Linked DNA regions of Homo sapiens: region 1 is linked to region 2. The links are contacts of gene promoters, found by promoter capture Hi-C in blood cells and fetal thymus (Javierre and others, 2016). All regions are on one chromosome and are shown on one strand. Each heading gives the region's core, a stretch centred on a gene start or on the middle of the fragment in contact. The rest is flanking DNA. Distances are from core to core; before and after follow the strand shown. Region 1 has its middle 9.3 kb from the start of SCYL3. Region 2 holds the start of MROH9 (maestro heat like repeat family member 9).

Region 1 (7,553 bases), core at 957-3,456, 1.0 Mb after region 2:
AGAGAACCTGAACACCACTCCCAAAGAGCCTCATCCATGCCTGGATGTGATTTTGATGATGAGATCCTACACTTTAAACCAGAGCCTAATGCCATAACGATAGGAGGTTTTTGGCAGAGGAGGTAAGCATATTTTGCTTGTGGATGGGATGTAAATAACTGTGGCAGAAGGAGATATGTAACTAAAAAAGGTGACCATGGTATTCTCCAGCTCCTCTCATCAAAAGATGGACTCTATTTCCTCACTTTTTGAAACTGGGCTTCCCTTGTATCTCACTTCTACCAATAGAATGAGACAGAAATGATGAGTGAGTTCTTACAGGTTCAGCTCTTTTTCCTTCTTCTCTACAATTTACTACTGTTTCAAGTCTGCTGTGTAATCAGCACTGCACTAGTACATGAATATGAAGCTGAACCCCTCAGATTATATCTATTACAGCTTGCACCAGGTGGGACATGGAGCTGCCCACTAAGGCTTAGACTCCAGGAGGGTGAGTCAAGGAAACATCACCTTTTGGTTAGCTTAACTGTCAGGGTTTTTTCTTTTTTCTTTTATTTTTTTTTTACCAGAAGCAGAAATACTTTTTATTCTTTTAAAAATGTTTGTTATTTTTATTTTTTATTATACTTTAAGTTCTAGGGTACATGTGCACAACATGCAAGTTCATTACATATGTATACATGTGCCATGTTGGTGTGCTGCACCCATCAACTCGTCATTTACATTAGGTATATCTCTAATGCTATCCCTCCCACCTCCTCTCACCCCACAACAGGCCCCGGTGTGTAATGTTCCCCTTCCTGTGTCCAAGTGTTCTCATTGTTCAATTCCCACCTGTGAGTGAGAACATGCAGTGTTTGGTTTTCTGTCCTTGCGATAGTTTGCTCAGAATGATGGTTTCCAGCTTCCTCCATGTCCCTACAAAGGACATGATCTCATCCTTTTTTATGGCTGCATAGTATTCCATGGTGTATATGTGCCACATTTTCTTAATCCAGTCTATCATTGTTGGACATTTGGGTTGGTTCCAAGTCTTTGCTATTGTGAATAGTGCTTCAATAAACATATGTGTGCATGTGTCTTTATTGTAGAATGATTTATAATCCTTTGGGTATATACCCAGTAATGGGATGGCTGGGTCAAATGGTATTTCTAGTTCTAGATCCTTGAGGAATCGCCACACTGTCTTCCACAATGGTTGAACTAGTTTGCAGTCCCACCAACGGTGTAAAACTGTTCCTATTTCTCCACATCCTCTCCAGCACCTGTTGTTTCTTGACTTTTTAATGATCACCATTCTAAGAGCTTCTTTATTTCCAGTCCTGGGCTGAAGGAATCTTATTGTTGTGTTCCAGCTTTATTGAGATATAATGGACAGATTAAAAATTGTATGTATTCAAGGTGTACACTGTGATGACTTGATAGATGGATACATTGTGAAATGATTATCATAGCCAGGCACGGTGGCTCACAGCTGTAATCCTAGCACTTTGGGAGGCCGAGGTGGGGGGATCACTTGAGCCCAGGAGTTCAAGACCAGCCTGGGCAGCAAAGAGAGATCTCATCTCTACTAAAATTCTAGAAAAAATTGGCTGGGCATGGTGGTGCATGCCTGTAGTCCCAGCTAGTTGGGGGTGGGGAGAACGTGAGGGGTGCTGAGTTGGGAGGATCGCTTGAATCTGGGAGGTTGAGGCTGCTGCGAGTCCTGATTGCACCACAGCACTGCAGTCCAGGTGACAGAGTGAGGCTTTGTCTTTAAAAAAAAAAAAAAAAAAAAAAAGATTATCATCACCACAATTAGTTACTATTTGTGTGTATGTGGGGTGAGGAAGGGGGAAGCCACTTAAAATCCACTGTCTCCAAATGTCAAGTATACAATGCAGTATTAGTAAGTGTAATCAGTGTGTTGTATGTTAGATCCCCAGAGCTTAGTCATCTTAAACTGAAAGTCTATACCCTTTGTCCAGCATCTCCCAATTTCCCCCACCCCACAGCTTCTGGCAACCACCTGCTACTCTCTGCAAAGGCATCAGTTTTAATTTGGTGATTTTGAAAAGGAGAACCACACAAGTTTGGAGGGTTCATACAAACTCCAGAAATGGAGTGAAATAGTTAAGAAAGGGACGCTGAGCCTGTGTTAGTCCATTCCCACATTGCTAGAAAGAACAACCTGAGACAGGGTAATTTATGAAGAAAAGAGGTTTAATTGATTCACAGTTCCACAGGCTGTATAGCAAGCATGGCTGGGGCATCCTCAGGAAACTTAAAGTCATGGTGGAAGGGCGAAGGGGAAGCAAGCACCTTCTTCACATGATGGAGCAGGAAAGAAAGAGAGCAGGGGTAGGTGCTACACACACACTTTTAAACAACCAGATCTTATGAGAACTCAGTATCACCAGGAGAACACAGGGGAAATCCACCCCTATGATCCAGTCACCTCCCACCAGGTCCCTCCCCCAACACTGGGAATTAGAATTTGACAGGCGATTTGGGTGGGGACACAGAGCCAAACCACATCAGGGCCTATCAATCATTTCTCACTGAAATTACCAAGTCTAGCTACTTGTTTTTATTTTTTAACATTTCTAATGTCTTTATGAGTATCCTCAATTTTTAGTTTTCTCAAATTTGACTTTTAATAACACAGAATATGTTATAAGGCACATGCTGTTGATAGAGTTCCACTTTGTTTCAACTGTTAATGACTTGATGAATGTGATATTCATCTCCCTTCATGTGTACCTGTGTACATGCTCGTACACAGTGATATGGTTTGGCTCTGTGTCCCCACCCAAATCTCATGTTGAAGTATGACCCTCAGTGTTGGAGGTGGGACCTAGTGGGAGGTGACTGGATCATGGAGGTGGTTTGTAATGATGTAGCGCCATCCCCCTAGTGCTGTCTCGTGACAGAGTTCTCATGAGATCTGGCTGTTTAAAAGTCTGTAGGGTCTCCCCTTTCACTCTTTTCCTCCTGCTTCTGACATGTAAGATGTGCTTGCTTCCCCTTCACCTTCTGCCATCATTTTAAGTCACCTGAGGCCTCCCCAGAAGCAGAAGCCTGTACAACCCACGGAACCATAAGCCAATTAAACTTCCTTTGTTTATAAATTACCTAGTCTCAGGTATGTTTTTATAGCTGAGCAAGAATGGACTAATACACATAGCATGGTCTTTTTTTTTAATTGAGAAATAATACAGATACCATAAAAGTACCTTTTTAAAATTTACATTTAAAATGTACTTTAAAAATATAATTTAGTGGATTTTAGTATATTCTAAAGGTTGCACAACCATCACCATTATCCAGTTCCCAGAATGCTTTCATCACTCCAAAAGGAAACCTCCTACCCATTAGCAGTCATGCCCCCATTCCTCCTTACCCCCAGCCCCTAGCAACCATGTATCTGCTTTCTTTCTGTGTGGATTTATCTAACCTGGACATTTCATATAAATGCACTCAAACAATGTGTGGCTTTTTGTGCCTGGATTCTTCCACTTAACATGATGTTTTCACAGCATCCATGTTGTCACACGTATGAAAACTTTATCCCTTCCAATGGCCAAATAATATTCCATTGTTTGGAATACATTTTGTTCAGCCATTCATTGGTCCAGGCATTTTTTAGGCGGCAATAAAAGTACTCAAAATGAAGACACAGCAAAGCTCCAAATGCACACATCTACCCAGCAGACAAGTGACTTCACTGTCTACTATCACGGGGAGCAGAAAGAGTGCCCTGAATTGAGCTCCCCTCTGAGACCTAACCAAATGCACACCTGGCCCAACCTTTGTCTGGAGAGTTAATTTTGTGGTACCAATTTCTGTTTTAGTTTTTCTCTCTAAAATAACTTTATTAGTGTAATCACATTTTCATGTAATTCCTAATTACCCTTCTTGGTCTGAATTCCTATTATTAAAATGCCGTGTTTACACACTTGGTTTAGGGCTACTCTGATTTCAGCACATCACTACCGGATTTCCTTTAGCTGTTTCTTGGTTTCCTATTTCTTGCAGAAGATAAAAAAGACAAATAAGCCCTTCCTCTTCCTCCGCACCTCTCTTATCAAAAATGGTGAGAAGATAGCAGTGGTGCTATTCCTTGTGTTTTGGGAACACACGTGTCTTTGCCACTTGGTTGTACACACCGTAGTGGCTTTTACTGCTGCTAATGTCACTGGATCAATAAATTCATTCCTAATGAACTCCATTTAGATTCCATACAGTGAGAGGCAAAGTTAGGAAAAAAAGTAAATGAAAAAATTCAAAAGATTGGTGAGAAAACAATTGCTGTGAGAAAAGAGGAAAATAATTTTTTAAGAAACTAGTATCAAAATTGAGGGCAAAAGTTTTCAGAGGAGGTCTAAAATCACTGGGATTTGTTTTACTCATTTTTAATATACTTGCTGATGATGGAACAGACATTGCACTGAATCCCTTTGTCCCATAAGCAGTAAGTTCCCCGATCTAGCTGCTTCTTCCTTGAGGTAGAACTGAGACTGGGGTGGGTGTTTGTTTGCAGGGAGGAGGGGAGAGACTCAGGAGAGATGGCAGCCCTGAGAAAGACTTGGAATAGTACAGTGAGCAACAGGGAATTTTTTTTTTTTTTTAAGGAAACAGAGCAAATGGTTTTTATGTTGTCCTGAGCTGGAAGCACAGCTTTGGAGAGGACTGAGAAACTAGCTAAAGATCATAAGTTACTGTTTCTTGGCATAAATTTGTAAAGTTAACTGCCATCTATACCTTATCAGGAAATGTGACCATGCCGTATCCCCTCCTGTTTCCTACCAATGCTTTGGAGCTACTATCACAAGACCCTCAAGATTGTTATCATATGAGGAATTACAGGCTACGGGCACTGTTTTATAGATGTAAGACTCAAAAGCTTCCAATTTAAGTGTAGGAGACTAGAATATGCCCAAAATATGCCTCCTTGGCATAAGGATTATTTTCAGCTGAAGGCAATTGAGAAGGAGCAGATATTTTTAAAAAGTTCTCTATCCTACTCCTACTTCCCTCAAAACAAGATATAAATTTACAAAAGTATTCCTTCTCCCCTCTCCACTAGGAAACACAAAGTTTGATCACTAAAGGCAGCTTCTGTCAACACTAGAAGAACCTACATTAAAAACTTCCATTTATTTGCCTTACCATGGTTTGCCATCCTTTCTTCTGTCTTATTTCTCTAAGAGTTTATTCTTCTTTGTTGAAGATGCCATATATGCCTGAGTTCTAAGCCACCTCTTTGAGTATCTCCTATGTGTATATGAAATACACATGAATAAACTTCTGTTTGTTTTACTCTTCTCAATCTTTGTTATAGGGGCCCCAGACAATGAAATTAAGAGGGGGAAAAGGAACGATTATTTTTCCTCCTTTATACAACTTTACATTCAGTTCCTCATCTCTTTATTAAATTATCTTTAAAATTACAAAAATACATGCATGTAATCCCGGCACTTTGGGAAGTTGAAGCAGGAGGCAAGGTGTTCAAGACCAGCCTGGGCAACACAGCAAAACCCTGTCTCTACAAAAAATAATTTAAAAAATGTATCTGGATGTGGTGGCACATGCCTGTAATCCTTGCTGCTTGAGGGGCTGGGATGGGAGGACTGCTTGAGGCCAAGAGTTCAAAGTTATAATGAGCTATGATTGCACCATTGTACTTCACCCTGGGTGACAGAGCCTGGACTCTGTCTCTTAAACAAATAAACAAAAACAATGTAGGCTCACTGTAACACATAAAACAATATGCAGATATATAAAAAGGTATATAAAGAAAGTAACCTCTCCCTACCTTACATGGTGAATGTTAACAGACTAGTATATATTTTTCTATACTTCCATTCATTCATTCATCAGTAAATAATTGTTGAGCATCTATAATGTTCCAAGCATTGTTCTAAGCATTTATGGCAGATCATTGAACAAAAACAGATTTTTTTCCCTTGTGAAACTTAACATTCTAGCAGGGGAGAAATAAACCATTAAAATGTAATTTTTTTAAAAAAGTACAATGAGGTTTCTCAGGCAAATATAAAATGAACACATGTCAAAGACTCTATTTAATGTTTTTATTAATGAGGGAATCAGTAAGATTTTAAACTAGTCCAAATAGCAGCTGAGAAGATAGGTGTATATGTAGGCAATTTGATAAAGACATGTCAGGTTCAGGTTGCTGGGTTAATAACTTACAGGACAATAAACTGTAACCATTAAGATGATTTGCTGTGCTGGACAAACTTATTTACATCTCTAGTGGATGAAAATGAAAAAGTTAGCCTCTGCCCCTAAAAAGGTAATAAAGAAGTAGTAAAATAACCTAGTCAATAGGAATTTAATCCAGAATTGCATGGGAAGAAAGCCACAGTAACCTCTTTTGCCTATTTTAAAGTTTCAGATAATTGTTTTCTCTCAAAACCAAAAGCCATAATACATAAGCAAATTGTCATATTTCATCAAATATATGATGCCATCACATTTAGGAAGCATCAATATATTTGGTACCACTAAGAAAAAATTATTGACAAATTATATTATGCCATTTGTGGTAAAATGCATTCTGACCTTCAGGGATGTTAAAATGTGAAAAACTATAGTTTTTACAATCTAGAAAATACAGTATATGGCTGTTTATAAGACGGTCAGTGCTATGGAGGGAAAAAGCAAAAGAAAACAGGATAGGAAGCACCAGGAGTGTAGCAGGAAGGAAGGTAAACGTTGTAGAATTAGATAGGGTGGATCAGGACAGACTTCATTGAGAAGACGAGATCTGAACAAAAAATAGAAGTAACAGACTTAGTCAAATGGACATGTGGGAAAAGAGAATGACAGGAAAAGGAAGCGCTAGAGCAAAAGTCCTAAGGCAAGAGCTCACCTGGCATGCTGACAGGACAGCAAGGAGGCCACTGAGCATGGACCAGAGTTAGTGAGCAGGAGGATAGCAGTGAGGCCAAAGGAGGGAGGCCTTAGATCATTTAGGGCAGTTCTCAAACCTTCCTGCAAGGAAGGTGCCTGCAAATCACCTAAAGATCCTGTTAAAATGTAGATTCTGACTCGACAATCTAGCGTGAGGCCTCAGCTTTTGCATTTTTAACATGCTTCCAGAGGATGCTCATGTTGCCTTCAAATATTAATTAACCACCCCTACAGGATAGATCTAAGTTAGTACACATCTGTATCTCCCTGAAGGCTGAAGTATTTCAAAGAAGAGGTAGATATATAATGCACACATTGTTTGCCCCAAATCTTTCTCCCAGGAGTATGATTCCAAGATGATTCATGGCTCTTTGAAGTTGAGAAGCAATTCACACTTCAGAGGCTTTTAGCATCTGAAAGATTTCAATGAGAAGTCTATACTCCTGGGGCAGATACTACAAACACTTCAGCTATCTCTAACTCAGATCAATACTAGTGGCTTTAAGGATGTTTAAAAGTGAATTTTCATGGCCAAAATAAGTAATTTCAAGATGGACAGAATGAATAGAAATGTTGCCATGCCTTACATGATCAGAGTATGAGAATCTAGTGAGTCTAGCAATCTACACACTTTG
Region 2 (7,024 bases), core at 33-2,532:
TGGAGGTTAATCCAACTGGGCCGGTGCACCTAAATAATAAATATCCTTCTCAACCCCATCGGTCTCTCTGATTCCTTATCAATCCCACTACATTTCAACATGTTAAATGGAATTATGAGCTTCTTATTGACTTTATTTGGAGATTAACTATGGCTTAAGGATATGTATATGGGTGCCAAATTTTCAACGTGGGAACTCATTATGGTTAGTTAATATTACGTGTCAAACTGAGTGAGCCATAGGATGCCCAGATATCTGGTAAACATTATTTTGGGGTATGTCTGTGAGGGTATTTCCAGAAGAGATTAGCATTTAAATTGGTGTTCTGATGATAGGAGATGACACTCCCTAATGTGGGTCAACATCTTCCAATCCATTGAGGGCCTGAATAAAACAAGAAGGCAGAAGAATGCTTAGTTTTCTCTTTGCCTGACTACTTGACTTGGGACACAAATCTGCTGCCCTCGGTGCTCTGGTTCTCAGATCCTCAGAACCAGGCTGGAATTTTTATCATCAACTCTCTTGCTCTCAGGCCTTCAAACTGCACCATTGGATCTCCTGGGTCTCTGTCTTGCAGAAAGCAGAATCCAGGACTTCCTAGCTTCTATTATTGTGTAAACCAATACCTTATAATAAATATATTTATCTATATAGTTGTGGTTTCTCTCATCCTTACTAATAAGATAATCCTTACTAGTAAGGCATGAAGTTAGGAGATTAATGAATAAAGACAAATTCTTCCAATTGCCAACTTTGGCAAGATTTCTGGATGAGGGCCCATAGTAATGTAATTTTCTTTTTCTTTTCTTTTTTTTTTTTTTTTTTTTTTTTTTGTCTCACTCTGTTGCCAGGCTGGAGTGCAGTAGCATGATCTCGGCTCACTGCAACCTCCACCTCCCGAGTTCAAGTGATTCTCCTGCCTCAGCCTCCTGAGTAGCTGGGATTACAGGCACCCGCCACCACACCCAGCTAATTTTTGTATTTTTAGTAGAGATGGGGTTTCACCAAGTTGCCTAGGGTGGTCTCGACCTCCTGACCTCATGATCCGCCCACAGCCTCCCAAAGTGCTGGGATTACAGGTGTGAGCCACCATACCTGGGCCATAACGTAATTTTCTAATGTATTCATGGTTCTTTTTCTTAACAGAACAAAAATTAAGAAAAGTAGTCAGGATTAGAAAAAAAGACAAGCTTTTGAATGACAGAAATATTAATAGGAATTCACTTACATATTTGTAACTTCTCTGTAATCACGGTGAGACAAAGTAGTGAAGAGAAACTCTAGTATATTACCTCTTAGCCAAAGGTAAAATACTCTAGGTAGTTATCAACCAAGCAAATTCTTTGAAATGTTGACACTCGTCATGGCAACCATATGTTTCAAAGATTCCATTCTGGAATGAATGTGGTAGAATGTCCTGGCATGCCCAAGTGGCTACTAATGCTCACCTGTCATTATTGAGGGGTGGGTAAGTTTCTGGTTTCTATGTTACAAGCACTGAAAGATAGTTCTTCAGACCAACAGTCCAGTAGAAGCTGGGCAAAGGATAAGAATAGAAAATTCACAGAAAAGGAAAACTGAATGGCCAATAAATATTTTAAAAGATTTTTAATCTCACTTGAAGTTATGAAAATACAAACCATTAAAATATTATTTCCCAGCTAATAAGTTAAAAAGTACTAAAATACAAGTAAAAATTAAAAAAAGATAATTTCAAATATTGGCAAAGATAAAAGAAAGTTGAACTTTCTCACACGACTGGTGGGATTATAAATGGATATAACTAGTTTGTAGAGAAACTTGTCAAGTTCTAGCAAAACTGAAAATCTACAACCCAGAATTTCCAGTTCTAGGTCCATAGAGTGTATAAACATGTATACAACTGATGCACTGAGAGACATGAAGGATGTTTATTGTAGCACTTTTTATAATAGAGTTATTAAAATATAATTCACATACCATAAAATTTATCTTAAAGTATATAATTCAATCATTTTAAATATATTTACAGAGGTATACAACCATCATTACTATCTAATTTTAGAACATTTTCATTTAGAACAAGCTCCAAAGAAACCCTGTACCTGTTAGCAGACATTCACCCTCCCTCTCCCCCAAGTACCTGGCAACCACTAATCTTCTGTCTGCCTTCTGGACATTTTATGTAAATAGATTTATACAATATGTGACTTTTTATGATTAGACTGTTTGGATTTTTATTACTGAGTTGTGATTTTTTAATATGTTCTAGATGCTAGTCTCTTATCAGATACATAATTTGCAAATATTCCTCCTTTTCTATGGGCTGCCTTTACATTTTCTTGACAGTGTCTCTTGAAGCACAAAAGTTTTAAATTTAAGTGAAATTTAAATTTGCCATTCTTTTTCTTTTATTGCTTGTGTTTTTGGTATCATAACTAAAAAAAAAGAAAAAGACATTGCCTGCATTCCCTGGCCCAACTTCACAGAGATTAGATTTAGAACTTTTCTAAGAGTTTTGTAGTTTTTGCCTTACATTTAGGTCTTTGGTTCATTCTGAATTAGTTTTAGTATATAGTGTGAGGTAGAGGTCTAATTTTATCTTATTTTTTGCATCTGGATATTCACTTGTCTCAGTACAATTTGTTAAAAAGATGATTCTTTTCCTGATTGTCTCCACATCTTTGTAAAAAATGAATTGACTAAAATGGTTTATTTCTGAACTCAATTTTATCCCATTAATCTATATGTTTTTCCTATACTGGTAGCACACTGTGGTGATTTCTGTGTCTTTGTAGTAAGTTTTGAAATCAAGAAGTGTGAATTTTCAAACTTTGTTTGTTCTAGGGTCACAATTATAACATTAGCCTAAAACAATGTAGTTTGAATTAATATCAATTTAGTTTCAATAACATACAAAGGTTTTGCTCCAGTATACCTGGTTTCCTCCTTCATTTTTTCTGCTATTATTGCCATGCACATTATATATATTCATGTTATACATACATATATTTAAACATTATAATCCCACCAACCCAGTTTTATAATTATTGCTTTAAGCTGTTTTCTTTTAAACATAATAGGAGAACAAAACCAAATAATTTTATTCTACCTCTGTAGTTTATGAGTGTGCTCTCTGTGTAGACTTGAGTGACTAGCTAGTATTCTTTTATTTCAGCGTGAGACAATATCTTCAGTATTTCTGGTAGGGCAGATCTGCTAGAAAAACAATCTTACTTTATTTGTGAATACTTAATTTTTCCTTTCTTTCTTTCCCTTCCTTCCTTTCTTTCTCTTTTCTTTCTTTCTTTCTTTCTTTCTTTCTTTCTTTCTTTTTTTTTGAAGGATAGTTTGGTCAAATATAGAATTCTCAGTTGGTAATTTTCTTTTTCTTTTTTGAGACGGAGTCTTGCTCTGTCATCCAGGCTGGAGTGCAGTGGCGCAATCTCGGCTCATTGCAAGCTCCACCTCCCAGGTTCACACAATTCTCCTGCCTCAGCCTCCTGAGTAGCTGGGACTACAGGTGCGTGCCACCACAGTGGCTAATTTTTTTGTATTTTCAGTAGAGACGGGGTTTCACCGTGTTAGCCAGGATGGTCTCGATCTCCTGACCTCGTAATCCACCCGCCTTGGCCTCCCAAATTGCTGGGATTACAGGTGTGAGCCACTGCACCTGGCCCAGTAATTTTTTTTATGGTTCTTTGTTGTCATCTGACTTCCTTCTAGCCCCCTTCTTCTCTGTCTTCCTCCTGCTTTGGCCATGTAAGATGAACCTGCTTCCCCTTCAGCCATGATTGAAAGTTTCCTGAGGCCTCCCCAGCCATGCTTTCTGTACAACATGTGGAACAGTGAGCCAGTTAAACCTTGTTTCTTTATAAATTACCCAGTCTCAGATATTTATTTAAAGCAGTGTGAGAACAGACTACTACAGAAAATTAGTACCTAGGAGTGGTGCATTGCTATAAAGATACCTGAAAATGTGGAAGCAGCTTTGGAACAGGGTAATGGGCAGAGATTGGAACAGTTTGGTTGGCTCAGAAGAAAACAGAAAGATGAGAGAAAGTTTGGAACATCCTAGAGACTTGAATGGTTTTGACCAAATTGCTGACAGTGGGGCAGAGATGGCCAGGCTGATGAGGTCTCAGATGGACATGAGGAACTTATTGGGAAGTTTGAACTTGAGAGTGATGATTTAGGGAATTTGGTGCAAGAAATTTCTAAGCAGCAAAACATTTAAGATGTGACCTGGCTGCTTCTAACAATATATGCCCACATGCCTAAGCAAAGAGATGGTCCGAAACTGGAACTTAAAAAGGGAAGCGGAGCATAAAAATTTGCAGCCTGACCATGTGGTGCAAAAGAAAAACCAATTTTCTGGGGAGGAGTTCAAGCCAGCTGCAGAAATTTGCATAAGTAAAGAGAAACCAAATGTTAATAGCCAAGACAATGAGGGAAATGCCATAAAGGTACTTGAGAGAACTTCAGGGCAGTCCCTCCCATTACAGGCTGGAGTCCTAGGAAAGAAGAACGGTCTTAAGGGCCAGGCTTGGGGCCCCACTGCCCTTGGGACACTGCTTCTTGTGTCCCAGCTGTTACAGCTCCCACTGTGGCTAAAACAGCCCCAGGTACATCTCAGGCCACTGTTTCAAAATATGCAAGCCATAAGCCTTGCTGGCTTCCACATGGTGTTAAGCATGCAGGTGCACAGGGGACAAGGGTTAAGGCTTGGGAGCCAATGCCTAGATTTCAGATAACATATGGAAATGCCTGGATGTTCAGGCAGCAGTCTGCTGTGGCAGCACAGCTCTCATGGAGAACCTCTATAGAGCAGGGTGGAGGGAAAATGTGGGGTTGGAGCCTTCACACAGAGTCCTCACTGGGGCACTGCCTAGTGGAGCTGTGAGAAGAGGGCCACTGTCCTCCAGACCTCAGAATGGTAGATCCACCAACAGCTTGTACTGTGCACCTGGAAAAGCTGCAGGCACTCAATACAAACTTGAGAAGGCAGCCACGGGGGCAATACCTTGCAGAACCACAGGGGCGAAGCTGCCCAAGGCCTTGGGAGTCCACCCCTTGCATCATTGTTGTCTGGATTTGAGACATGGAGTCAAAGGAGATTATTCTGGAGCTTTAATATTTAAAGACTGCCCTGCTGGGTTTCAGACTTGCATGGCACCTGTAGCCCCTTCGTGTTGGCCGATCTCTCCCTTTTGGAAAGGGAATATTTCCCTATTGCCTGTACCATCATTGTATCTTGGAAGTTACTAACTTACTGTTTTTCTAACTTGGAAGTTACTAACTTACTGTTTTTGATTTTTCAGGCTCATAGAAGGCACTAGACTTGTCTCAGATGAGACTTTGGACTTTTTAGTTAATGTTGAAATCAGTTAAGACTTTGGAGAACTGTTGAGAAGAGTTGATTGTATTTTGCAGTGTGAGAAGGACATGAGATTTGGGAGGGGCTAAGGGCAGACTGATATGGTTTGGATTTGTGTTCCCACCCAAATCTCATGACAAATTGTAATTCCCAATGTTGGAGGAGGGGTATGGTGGGAGGTGATTGGGTCATTGGGATGGATTTTCCCCCTTGCTGTTCTCATGATAGTGAGTGAGTTCTCATGAGATCTGGTTGTTTGAAAGTGGATAGCACCTTCCCCTTCTCTCTCTTTTCTCTCTCTTCTTCCTGCTCCAGCTATGTAAGATGGGCCTGCTTCCCCTCCTGCCATGAATGAAAGTTTCCTGAGGCCTCTGCAGCCATGCTTTCTGTACAGCAGAAGTCCTTGCCCCACCATTCTAAAAATGCTTTCACTGTTTTGTTTTGATAGAAAAAAAATTTCTAATATTAAACAAATTGTGATCTCTTCATACAATGGAAATAGCAATTAAAATAATGGACTAAGATTGTATATCTAAACATGGATAGCTATAAAAAATTATGAAAAAATTGCAGAATGATATGTATGGTATGACACTTATCATATAATAACACACTGAACTATATTTTTGTTGGGTGCAAAACACTATTTTTGATATGAAGTAAATTTTCTAAAACAATTGGATAGGAGGATAAATACCACATGCATCATAGTGATCGTGAATAAAACTAGAATGAAGAAAAAAATCAGATAAACTTTTTCCATAATATTTTCTTTTTTTATTAAAGAAAATCTCGACGCATGAAAATTTGCTATATTATTTTCTGTGCTTTTCTGAATTTAAAATTTAAGAAGAAAGTCATAATGAATTAGTTCTGTCTGTTCTCTGGGAATTCCTTTGACTCTATCCAATTCAATATTTTATAATCTATGAGTGGAGAGAAAACAAAAGACAAGAGTAAGATAAATAACTGCTGAACCACAATCAAGTCTGTTATATAACGATTTTGAAATGGGTTTCAAATCTGGAATGTGAAATTCTGGTTTTCATTTTGCTTTTAAATAAGCACAAGTTCAAACCAGACAAAAAAATATGAATCATTGGCTTCTTACTATCTAAAAATCTCCACAGTTTTCTCTGCTCTGGCCAGGGAATGAGAACTTTGGACATTGTTTCTCTTCTTTCCCCCTCAGTGTTGGTTTGTAACACCTCCACAGTTTCCAAAGAAGGGAAGGAAACTGCTTTATAATCATAGCCACTTGAAAGAACATAGCACCTCTCTTCCAGAGATTTTTAACATTCCAGCAACGAAGGGCGAGCACAAATATAAATTCCGTTTTACAAGTAAGAAGTGGGACAGTCTGAATTGCCGTGATCCCTAAATCATTTTTCTCACATGACTATTTGACCAGGGTAAAGATGCAAAACAAGCTCAAACCTCACCCCTCTGGCCTGCTAGCCAGAGCTTCCAAGCCTCCTCCGTGTTCTCATTACAACATGAAACCACTAGGTGTCACTCAAGATAAAACTTGCAGGCATCATATTAGAGATTACAACTAGGGGAGCAGAAAGGAAATTCAGTGTTAGTGCGGAATTCAAGGTGTTAACAGAGAAAACTGAAATTTGCACACTTACATGACACAATGGAAAGTGGCCTCTCTCCAGCCTA

The links. Contacts are between HindIII fragments. The CHiCAGO score rates a contact against its expected background, and 5 or more counts as called.
Region 1: a contact is called between a fragment that was not itself captured here and the fragment with the promoter of MROH9 in region 2, in 4 of 17 cell types (M0 macrophages, M1 macrophages, M2 macrophages and 1 more). The highest score is 8.0, in M0 macrophages.

What each region holds. Positions count from the first base shown.
Region 1 is chr1:169,899,417-169,906,969 of GRCh38, reverse strand. No RefSeq gene overlaps it. Among named protein-coding and RNA genes, the nearest start is that of SCYL3, 9.3 kb to the right of the region's middle. The HindIII fragment of the contact is 5,363 bases long and covers 1-4,887 here.
Region 2 is chr1:170,929,792-170,936,815 of GRCh38, reverse strand. It overlaps MROH9 (maestro heat like repeat family member 9), which reads right to left and starts at 1,282. Exons shown (of 22, transcript NM_001163629.2): 1 at 1,229-1,282. RefSeq lists an enhancer at 4,345-4,534. The HindIII fragment of the contact is 7,245 bases long and covers 1,193-7,024 here.